Regions from separate parts of the Homo sapiens genome. Here region 1 is linked to region 2. The links are contacts of gene promoters, found by promoter capture Hi-C in blood cells and fetal thymus (Javierre and others, 2016). All regions are on one chromosome and are shown on one strand. Each heading gives the region's core, a stretch centred on a gene start or on the middle of the fragment in contact. The rest is flanking DNA. Distances are from core to core; before and after follow the strand shown.

Region 1 (5,685 bases), core at 1,260-3,759, 110 kb before region 2:
AAGGCATCTGTTTAGCCCAGGACTCTACTTTCCATATCCCTAAAAGGGCAATGTGTGAAAAGATTATCTGTGCAAATATAAAGTCCCTGGCTGCTGCTTCTACAGACAAGCTCCTACTGCATCCTCAGGCAATCACCTTTCCACCCTGGGGCTGATCCTCCAGACCTGCACCAGCCCACCCACATACCCCTGGGCAATGATAGGCCCTTCCATGGACCAGCTTCTGCTCACACTCTCTGGCAAGCGTCTTGGCCTCTGGCAGGCTACAGCTCACAGCAAAACCATGCTCTCCTGGAAAAGTCTGAATCTCAGCCTTGCCTGGGGTCCCATTCTCAAGCTCTTAGTTCCTTCACTCACTCCGCGTGAGTCGGTAGCTGCTTTCTGAATCTGCTACTCATGAACGTTGTACAGTCCTGCTTTATCCTTTTCATGAGCTCACCACTCTTTATAGTTTAACAACTCTGAAAAAATCCCTGTTCAAATTACTGGTGTGGTTTGCCTCCTGAGTCTACCCTGGTTGACACAATATCTCAGCATCAAAAGATGGCATGGAAATGAAGGTCATCTCCGAACTGCTACTATGATAGACCTTCAATCAAATGAAGTCAAATGAAGCCTTCAGGCATTCATCTTGCAGAATGCAAACAGTCAGCTGCCACAGGGAACTGCAGAAGGCAAGCGTTGTGACCAAACCATAAATGCTGGTCAGCCCCATCTAAATCAGGTTAAAATGGGGATAGATATCAGCCAGTGAGAACACAGGCAGCTTTCTTTGGAATGGCCACTTCGGGGGTGGTGGGTGAGCAAAGAATGGATGCAGATGCTCTCTCCTCTCCAAGGAGCAATGTGGACTTCAAAGCCCACAAAGATTCGTGAGATTTATTCCTAGAATAAGTACCCTAGAGAAGCCCGCCCAGCAGAGTATAAAAGAAATCAAGAATTTCCGGTGGACCCAGAACGTGTCACAGCTTGGGGCCAAATAAATTACACTCCTGCAAATGCCTCGGGCCTAGCTCCAGTAAAAAGTGACAGGACAGCCATGTGTCCAAAAGCTAGTGCATTGCACAGCAAGGAGGAAACCAATTTCCTTTAGCCTTTGCTCCCCTAGAGACGTCATATGACCAGAGTGAGGTTGGACACTCAGCTCTCTATCTTTTCAAATAATTCCCCATCTCCAAGTTCATGGAAAGAGAGAAAACCATCATGTCACCATAGCGATGACTCCTCTAATGATGGTTCAGAGTGGAAAACTTCTGACTTCAAGGATGGCCTCATACAGGATGGACGTGAATGCTGGTCCTCAAAACCCCAATGTCACATTTTTAAAAATCTGACCATCCCTCAGTCAGTGTCAGGGGTTTTCATGTGGGAAACCTCAAAGAAGGTGAGAAGGCAGGGGAGGTGTAACCCACAGTAATTATTAATAAAACCAACATTCCAGGACAAACTACTGCTAAGGAGGTTGAATTTTTTTTCTAAATGATCCTTCACAAGTAAAATAAGGAACTGGAGTCCTTGGACTGATCGCTATATTATGCTAAATGGATGACAGAATACAGCTCAGGAGTCAAAGATCATAAGCTTCCAAGTGGCCACAGGGACAATAAGCCTTTCAGCCCTTGGGTAATAAAGTCAGACAATCTGGTCCAGCAGCCAGAAGATGGCTGAGCTGGAGGAACATCGATGATGGGACAGTCCCAGCGTCCGCCCTCTCTGCTGGAAGGACATTAGCTGCTGAGAATAACTGGATCCAAATTGTTAACGTGACCCCCCACTGCTCATGGGGATGAAGAAAAAGATCTGGGGTGATTGGAACCTTACAAAGCAGGGACACAGATGCTTTATGTCTTTCGAAGGTCTAGTTGTAAAAACAAGACCCGAAAGCAGCCTCTCGGTCTTTTCACTGCTGGCCAGCAAAACTGGGAGAGGACTATGTTGTGATGTCCCCAGGATATCCTTCATGATTGCCACCAAGATCTGCTGGGATAGGTGCCCAAGACCTGGAAGGAACACTAAACTAGAGACCCAGGGATGCACACACCTTGCATGTTCTCACAATGAGGCTAAACCAGACTCATCACCGAAGAAATGCCAGCCAACAGCCTGTGGACATGGATGCAGATTGACTATTCCAGCCCCTCAGTGAACAAGCTCCAAGTGTGTTTCCTTGTAAAGCAGTTATACAGGTCAAAAATCACTTCATCACAAATGAAATACGGTCAAACTACCACAAAACACAGGGCTAAAATATCTCATCACCGGAGGGTGCCAGAGACCACCAAATATAATCCAGATTCAAGGCAGTCCATGTGAAAATTGCCCACCAGGTGGCGGAAATGCAGGGAGACGGCCAGCATGTACAGATAATTTGTTTCCCGGGTCCACACATTATCTGATGAGAGTGAATCTGACCCTAGAAGAGAACTACACAACTACTTGGTTGCATTAGGGTTCAACAAGACTGTGCACGCTCCAAAAATTCTCAAAAAGGTCAAATCCAAGTAACAAGGGTTTTAGCCTATGAACCAAGGTGTGGCTAGAGAAAAGATTGTTTGAATTTGAAAAGAAGCTAGGAGGTTGACTCACTGGGGCATCTATCCTTGAGTCTTCCTGCAGTGGGAGGCAGAGTGAGCGGTCAGCTGGGCATCCACATCTAGAGTGTTGAAAACCTCCTGGGGGTGGAGACGGGGGACTTCCACTTCCAGAATGGGCAATTGTGTGTGTGTATAAAATATTTAAGATATATGTATTTATTTAAAGTCTCTAGAAATGGCCTTAGGGCATACAGCAAATAAAAAAACATTTAATTCAAGAACATCTATTAAAACCTGGCAAGAAATGGGAGGGTCTGTGGCATTTCAACCACGACCTGCTCCATTCCTCCCACTGCCAGCAAAATGTGACAGAAACTCCACTCCAGGTGGGTACAGCCAAGGACACAGCACTGTCTCCACCCAGCTCCCAGTCAAGGGCTATGGTATTTTCCCAAGAAGGAAAATCCATCAGCATTTTTCTTCCCACCCCAGCTACCTGTTGCAGAGACTAAATTCCAGGTGATTGTAGTAATCGGTTGAGGCTCTCTTCTTTTGCTCAGCCCCTACTTGTGGGACAAAAGCCCTGCCTTGGGTGCAACACACTGAGAATACTGGCACCATCAACCAGCTCATTTGTAAAGTAGAGGTTCCATGCTATGAGAAGCAAGCTGGGAATACAATAGACTCTCCAATAAGCACCCACCTCCTAAAGCAGGGGTGTCACTCAGAAAGTAGCTACCTACCACTGTCCCCACCCAGCCCCAGAGCCATAGCCAAAAGCTCCTGAAACATTTCCCCAAGAGGAAAGGCAGGACATAGAGAGCTCTAAAGCCCTTCCCGAATGAACTGACTTTATTTGCAAATGAGTACAAAGTTCAACATTAAGGGGACTTTCAAAACAATGAAGCTTGGGCAAAAAGCAATTGAGAGGAAACTGGTAAGTTCATTAGTGACATAAACTAGACCATAGGCCAGCTAGTTTATCAGAGAGAACCAGGAAAAGACATGGCTAAAAACAGACCTCTTGGGGTCAAAGCAAACCTCAAACACTGACCTCAAAAACTATCCCTGCAAATGAGCCTCAGTTTAATTGGATAAGTCATCTCAATAAAGGTGTTTTTTAAAGAAAAAAAACAGCAATAACAATTATACATTCTGGTCAACATGGAGTAACAGGAGCTGGATTTATTTTTAGGCCTGGAATAATTTTAAAAACAACACAAAATATTTAAGTCACTGGACATCAGGCAATGAAAGATAGTGGTTTATAAGAGATGAGAAATGAATAAGATGAGCCCCACGATTGCCCCAGATTACTGCATGGAGAGTTTCCAGTCTGAGGCTCAAGGAGGAGAGAACGTAACCACAGCCCACTGGCCTCCCCGAGTTGAAGAAACAGAGCTGCTTGGGATCCCAGGCCGCTGGAGTTCATAGGGCAGAGTACCAAAGAGGAGGGAGCTTAACAGAAAGAGAACTCTGCAAATACGAGAGTGTAAGTATTATACTGAGTAGTGATCAGTGTATGCATATGAGGAATGTACCTGAGGCCAAGAAAAAGACTACCCAAAAGCATTGAACAGAACAATCCCCAGAGAAAATTCAGGGCTGAAAATAATGCCTGACCTCATCAACAAGTACAGAAAATCTCATAATTCATTAAGCATCAGGTAGAGTACTCAGAGGAGTCTTCCTGATCTGTGGACAAAATTAACCATAGACTTAATGCTGTTGTGGTCTCATGTAAAAATGTTAAAAGAAAGCTGGGGATAGATTAAACTGTTTCAAAATAATTTAACTGTGTACCAGAACACAACTTAAGAATACAAAAATATCTAGCACCTGCAAAGATAAAATGCACAATGTCTAGCATTCAACTACAAATTAACATGCAGGCAAAGAAGTGGAAGAATATGATCCATAGTTAGGAAAATATCAGCCAGTCAAAGCTGATCCAAAATTGACATAGGTAATAAATAGATAAGGTCATTAAAGCAGTTATTATAATACTATTCCATATGTATAAGGAACTAGAGGAAGGATTAAACATTTTTGGCGAATGCACAGAAGGTTTTTTCTAAAACCAAATTAAACTTATAGAAAACAATGTGATGAAAAATACACTAGATGGAATTAATGACAGATTAGAAACTGCAGAAGAAAAGATTAGTGAACTTGAAGGCAGAGCAGTAGAAATTATACAAAATTATCAGAGGGTTAAAGGACTAAAAAAATAAAGAGAACATCAGTGACCTGTGAGATAAATGCCAGTGGTAAAATATATATGTGGTTAAAGTCTCTGAAAAAGAAGAGGGGATTTGAAAAAATAATGACAGAAAATTTTCTTAATGTGATGAAAACTGTATACCTACGGATTAAAAAAGTTCAACCAACCGTAATCACAAAAACATGAAGAAAACCATACCAAGTCACACTATGATCATCAAATTTCTTAAACCAACTCATCTAAGAGAAAATTTTAAGTGGCCAGAAGAAAAAAAATACATTATATGCAGAAGAACAAAGAAAAGGATGACAGCAGATTTCTCAGAAAAACAATGCAAGTGGCCAGGTACAGTGGCTCATGCCAGTAATCCCACCACTTTGGGAGGCCGAGATGAGAGGATAACTTGAGGCCAGGAGTTCAAGACCAACCTGGGCAACATAGCGAGACCCTGTCTCTACAAAAAAAAAATTTTTTTAATTAGCTGGTGTGATGGTGCATCACTGTAGTCCTAGCTACTCAGGAAGCTAAGGCAGGAGGATCACTTGAGCCCAGGAGTTAGAGGCTGCACTGAGCTATAATCACATCACTGCACTCCAGCCTTAGCAACAGAGTGAGACCCTGTCTCAACAAAATAAAAAATAAAAGACACAATGCAAGTTAGAAGAGAGTGGAACAATATCTTTAAAGAATTTAAAGGAAAAAAGTTCATCCTAGAATTATTTACCTAGCACAAATATCTTTCGAAAAAGAAGGCTGAGATTTTTTAGACGTACAAAAGCTGAATGTATCATTGAATTTTCACTATAAGAATTTTTAAAGAAAGTCTTCAAGCAAAAAGAAAATGACATCGCATGGAAATCTGGGTCTACACAAAGGAGTAACGAAGGGTGCCAAAAATGGAAACTATATGGATAAATATACAGACTT
Region 2 (5,225 bases), core at 1,575-4,074:
CCAACTGCTCCTCCATCTTTTTGGTAAGCACCATCTCTTCCTCCAGTGGTCCCCACCCTCTCCCCTTCTCTCATCTCCCTGGGTCCTGATAATGCCCCGCCACTGTCTCCTAACATGCTCTTGGTCTCCCTGCCATCTCACAGCCACAGCAGACCGTACACTGAACTCAGCCTCACAGACTGACTTCTGTGCTCACTCCCACTTCCTCTGGACTGACTAACTGATGTTTTTGTTATTTTATTATGTCCAGTAGGACAACTCACATTGTCTGTGGGACCACGCCTACTGTAAACAGGCAATTAAAAACTTCTCCTCCTCCTTCTCAAATTTAAAAGACTAATGTTAAAACTCTCGAGCAGTTCTTAGGCCAACGTCCCTGATCCTACTGCCCCAAGCTGGCATCTGTGCATGGGCAACGACCCTGGCCCCAGCCACACTGGTCTTCTCTGGGTTCTTCCTGGCCTCGTGCTCCTTCATGTCCTGCACCGTCCCCGCCTTGGAACTCACTTCCCTCCCACCCTATGTCACTGGCCACCTCCACGCCTGCTATGGCCTCATTCCAAGCATCTCTTCCTTTGGGAAGCTGGCCCAATGCCCAATGCTCCCCCACTCCACATGCCCCCAGAGCCCCAGTGGGTCTCCTCAGATAGCCTCACATGACTGTAAGGCCCAATCGTTGTTTGCTTTCTGCCCCTGCCCTACAGGCAGAGGGTCTGCCAGAAAAGGGCCGGTCTGAATCCTAGAACTGTGCCTACAACTATACCCTGGTGGAGGAGGCTATCTGTAAGTGACTGCTGCATGAATACAATATTGGTTTGATGCCAGGTGAGATGTCCCTCTCTTACTTTGAGGTCAAGTCAGGGAGGTGTCAGCCAGCCCCAGTGGACCCCTCCGCAGGCTAGCCTCTGCTCTGGACCACTGGAAAGGGCCATCTCACTGTTGCATGTGGGCTTACCTCTGCAAACAATTCAACTCTGACCCCCAGACTCTGCAGTGGAAACAGCCTCTGGCTATCCCAAGACATGCTAATATGCATTTCCTATAAACATTAACCCTCAGAGCCACCCTCTGACCACAGTCTGTTACATTCCCTTTTGACAGAAGAGGAAACAGAGGCTCAGCCAGGTAGCACAGCTGCCGGTCTCTGTGTGGTCCTCCTGGCAAGAGGTCCAGCCTGACACAGCCTGGTGGTGTGGAAGGCAAGCACAAAGGGTAGCTAGCCCCTCAGCCATTGGCTGAATTCCCTTGGTCCTCACTGGACACCTCCAGTGAGCACTAAGTTCGCCTCCATGATGCCCATAACAAATATACGTCCTGTTCCTGACAGTTGAGGCAGCACCCTCACAGGTGGCCCATGACCCTGCAGGTACGTAACGCAATGGTCTCCATCTCACAGAAGAGGAAACATTCCTAGGGAGGTTATGGGATGATGCTGAGATGCCACAGTGTCCAGCTGGCAAAGCCAGGCACATGCCCCTGCCCCTCCACCACAGAGCTATGATGGAGAGACCGCTCCATGGACCTCTGCCATGGTCAGGTCCAGGGCTGCTGCTCAAAGAATGGCATGATCCACACCTTACAAAGGTGTGAGGTGATAAGGAACGCGTTAGCTGGGAAGGCATTTGCACTTTGTCAGGGATGCTCTAGGATACACAAAGCTTCAGATTTACAAAGATGGAGAAGAGAGACAGGAGCATTCATGTCTTGGCCCTCTGGCTTGAGAGTCTTTTAAGCATGGAACTGAGGGACTCCTGGCCCTGAGGTCCACAGATAGGCTTTGAAATTGAAAACAGAATTTTGCAGCCTGGGTTCAGCTGCGTTTTGCTGAGGGTCTGATGCTTTCCACCAGCTTCCCAAAAGCGCCAATCAGTGGCCTTAACTGAACTGGCTCTCTCACGCTTGTCTGGGCTGGGGGCCAGCTCCTCGGTCCTTCTCCCTTCCTTCCCTCCCAAGGCCACCCTTCCGTGTGCCAGGATTGCCAGGGACGCCAAAGAGCCCCTAGACACTGGGCGGTGGCGGCGGGGGGCGGCGGCAGAGATGACTAATGCTCCCTCCCATCGCTGCACAAACCTCACCGGTGTAAATCGTTAGGGTTTGCATAGGCCTTTCACACGTTCTGAAGGATTGGTGAGACAATCCAGGAAAGCAGGTGCCACTAGCCCCACTTTGCAAACAGAAAGGCTGAGAGAGGTCAGTCGGTTGCCCAAGGACGTAGAGCTCACAAGAGGCCGAACTGGGTTTGAACCCGAGTGGAGAGAAGGCGAGCCGGGACTGGCTGCAGTAAAGAGGGCCAGGACCATGGCTGGGCTCAGGCTTGGTTTCCCGGGCTGCCAGAGGTGGCCCCTGGGGCTCGGCTACCAGGCCTCAGCGCAGCGGAGTCGGTGGAACGCCGGCGCGGGGAGCTCTTGCGGGACTGCGGCGCGCGCGGAGCTGCGACCCCGCCCCTGTCCGTCCCCATTGGGCTACTGGCCCGTCCGTCAGCTGCCTGTGCCCAATGGACAGAGGGCCGGCGCTCGTGGCGGGGCGGAGGTGCCCGGCGCGTGGTGCCCGGCGGGCGCGCGGCACCCCCCCGCCCGCGGTTGGCCTGGCAACGGGCTGCGCTCGCGGCTCCGCCCCCTGCCGGCGGCGGCGCGGCGCGGGGCGGGCGGACCCGCGGACTGGCGGCGGGCGGCGGGCGGCGGGCGGCGCGGGAGGGCGGGCGGAGGGAACCAGGCCGGCCGGAGCGTGTGCGCCGCCCGCGGTCCGGTCACGTCCCCGCGTGGGCGCCGCTGCCCGCGTCGTACGGAACGAGGGCGCCGCGGCCCCGTGCTCGCCGCCCCGCCCCGCCCCGCCCTGCCCGGAGCAGCTCGGCAGATGCTCTGTGCTGCGGCCCGGAGGTGAGTGAGCCGACCCGCGGCCGGCCGCGCGCCGCTGAGCCTCAGGGGTCGGGGGCACGGCCGGGGCATCCACCTTGCCCCCACTTGGGACTCTTCCCAGGCCTTTGTGCCCCGGATCCGCCAGGACGCAGCGTCAGGGATGCCCCTCAGGGGTGGGGGACACCAAGGGCGGGGACGCCTGCGAGGTGGGCAGGGGGCGGCCTCTGGTCGGGCAGGTGCTGGGGGAGGGATGCGCCGCCAAGCCGATGACCCCGCGGGAGGGGGCGGTTGAGGACCCGGGAGGGTGGACAGAGGGCGCCGGGGATGCCGCGCGGGGCCGCCGGGCGCCCCCAAGCAGCGGCTGATGCGGAGCCCGGGCGGGCCAGGCGAGCTGCGGGAGCGGCGCTGAGGCGGGTCTCCCTAGGGGGAGGATCAGGGAGGGGCGGCCGGAGCCGATGCAGGGCCTTGCCTGAAACCGAGGAGAGGGCCCCAGAGGCCTGGGCCCGAGGACCTGGGCCCGCAGACGGACAGCTAGCAGTTCTCGGTCACTGCTCTTGCAGCGAGCAGGTTCCTCACAGGCATTTAGAGGAAGAGATGAGTATCGACCTGCTGCGATTGTAATACGTTCCCGGCTCAATATTTTTTCCCTTAAAAGGCGGTGGGGGTGTTTGGGGGAGGGGAGTGAGGGCCTCAGGGCTGGCGCTCCGTATCCTGCGGGCGATCCGAGGGGGCTCTGCCTTTAGGGCGGTGCTGAGCCTTCCTGGGTGATGATGGCAGGATTCGGCCTAGGCCGAGAATGGGGGCTCCTGTTAACTGAGACAAGAGGATGATGCCAAGCGAGACCAGCGTTCCGCGTAGTCCGTGTTGGGGTGGAGGGACCCGCCTGGTAGAGAGGTCTGTCTTGCTTGGGGAGACAGCTGAGCCCCTGACCGGCTCCTTTCTGCCCAAGTGATTTCCCTGCCCTGGGGATTGAGCTCTCTGGAGAAGGCTCCTTGGCCAAATTCAATTAAGCAAATATTTATTGAGTGGTCACTCCCCCAGAGCTTGACGCTGGGGTGCACCGGGTGGGAGTGGACTGGGCCTGCCCTCCCAGGACTGATTGACCACCGCATAGGGGAAAACGTCTCTACTCGACCAACCCCGCTTGAGTGCAGGTGCAGGGGCCTCGGGAGGGACCTCAGAGTGGTGTCCTGGGCTGGGGGGTCAGGTGAGCTCGTGGGCAACATGACATTTGAACTGGAGCTTGAAGGACATGGGCACAGCTAAGCTGGGCATTGTGGGCAGAGAGGAGAGAATAGACCGAGGCACTTGGGCAGTTAGGTCTGATGGGAGCACTTAGCATGCCTGGGGAGTAGGAGGAGGTATGGCGGGAAAGGCCGGTGGGGGCTGCACGGGGCTGAGGGAGCTGGGAAGTGGAATGACCCCACTGCTGGTTAACTGTGGCTATGGTGGAGACCACGGCTTCCTCATCTGTAAAAGCGAAGCAGTTCCATGACCCCATGAGCTGGGGTGGGCCTGGAGAAGAGCTAGCTTTAAAGACTGGGGAAGGCTCCTTGCAGTCTGAGACTGTGCTTCCAGGCACTTCTCCCTCGGGCACAGCCAGGGCACTGGGTAACCACCCAGGCAACCCCCTTGTTAGGATTGAGTTGCCTGTTTCGGGGATGATGCTTAGCTAGTGACTCTGTGCCTCTGGGATGTGGATGTTTGAGAGCAGTAATCGTGGCAGCCTGGGAGCATCCATCTACGGGGTGCAGTGGGGGTGTGGATGGCCTGGCGGTGCTTGGATAAAATATGCGCCTTGAGCAAGCCTCATTCTCTAGGAATGAGGAGATGCTGGCATCTGGTTTAAAAGTCTTCCTGTGTGTTCCTCTAACTGACGTTGATTTTCTGAGACAGGAGGTGAATAAGACATAATTTCTCCCCCTCGGAAATTGGTGTCACTTTCCCCCCTAAGTCAGCTCCCTCATTTCTGGGGATGTTTTTGCTCTCCCTCTGAAGGGGCTGTTTGTTACTCATCTTTGTAGTGTGCCTACCCTCCCCACCCAACACACACTTGGCTTTGGCCAAGGCCCAGGTTGATGCAGCGAGAACAGGGCCTGCCCTCGTGGGGTGTGCAGTCTGTGCTGAGCAGGGTGAGCTGCTGTGCTCTGTGCCTGTCGCCTGGACTGTTGCAGGGACCTGGCATGTGACTGTGGGTTTGGGACACAGGGAATGGATTCTTCCCTCTGTCCCCAGCCTCTCAGTCCTTTTGTTTTCTAGAATCTCAGGAGGAACCTCAGAGACCTGGAGGCCCCACCAGAGTGGCCAGAACCTGGTGCAGGAGTATGGGTGGGGTCTCAGTCTGGCCCTCAGGAGCTTCTAGAACAATTC

The links. Contacts are between HindIII fragments. The CHiCAGO score rates a contact against its expected background, and 5 or more counts as called.
Region 1: a fragment that was not itself captured here is called in contact with the fragment with the promoter of GNAZ in region 2 in 1 of 17 cell types (megakaryocytes); the score reaches 12.4 in megakaryocytes.

The regions. Positions count from the first base shown.
Region 1 is chr22:22,957,079-22,962,763 of GRCh38, forward strand. No RefSeq gene overlaps it. Among named protein-coding and RNA genes, the nearest start is that of IGLL5, 72 kb to the left of the region's middle. The HindIII fragment of the contact is 1,860 bases long and covers 1,580-3,439 here.
Region 2 is chr22:23,067,695-23,072,919 of GRCh38, forward strand. It overlaps GNAZ (G protein subunit alpha z), which reads left to right and starts at 2,825. Exons shown (of 3, transcript NM_002073.4): 1 at 2,825-2,876. All of the region lies in intron 4 of RSPH14 (radial spoke head 14 homolog), which reads right to left. RefSeq lists silencers at 2,500-2,639, 2,780-2,919 and enhancers at 3,526-4,406, 4,407-5,225. The HindIII fragment of the contact is 14,108 bases long and covers 1,657-5,225 here.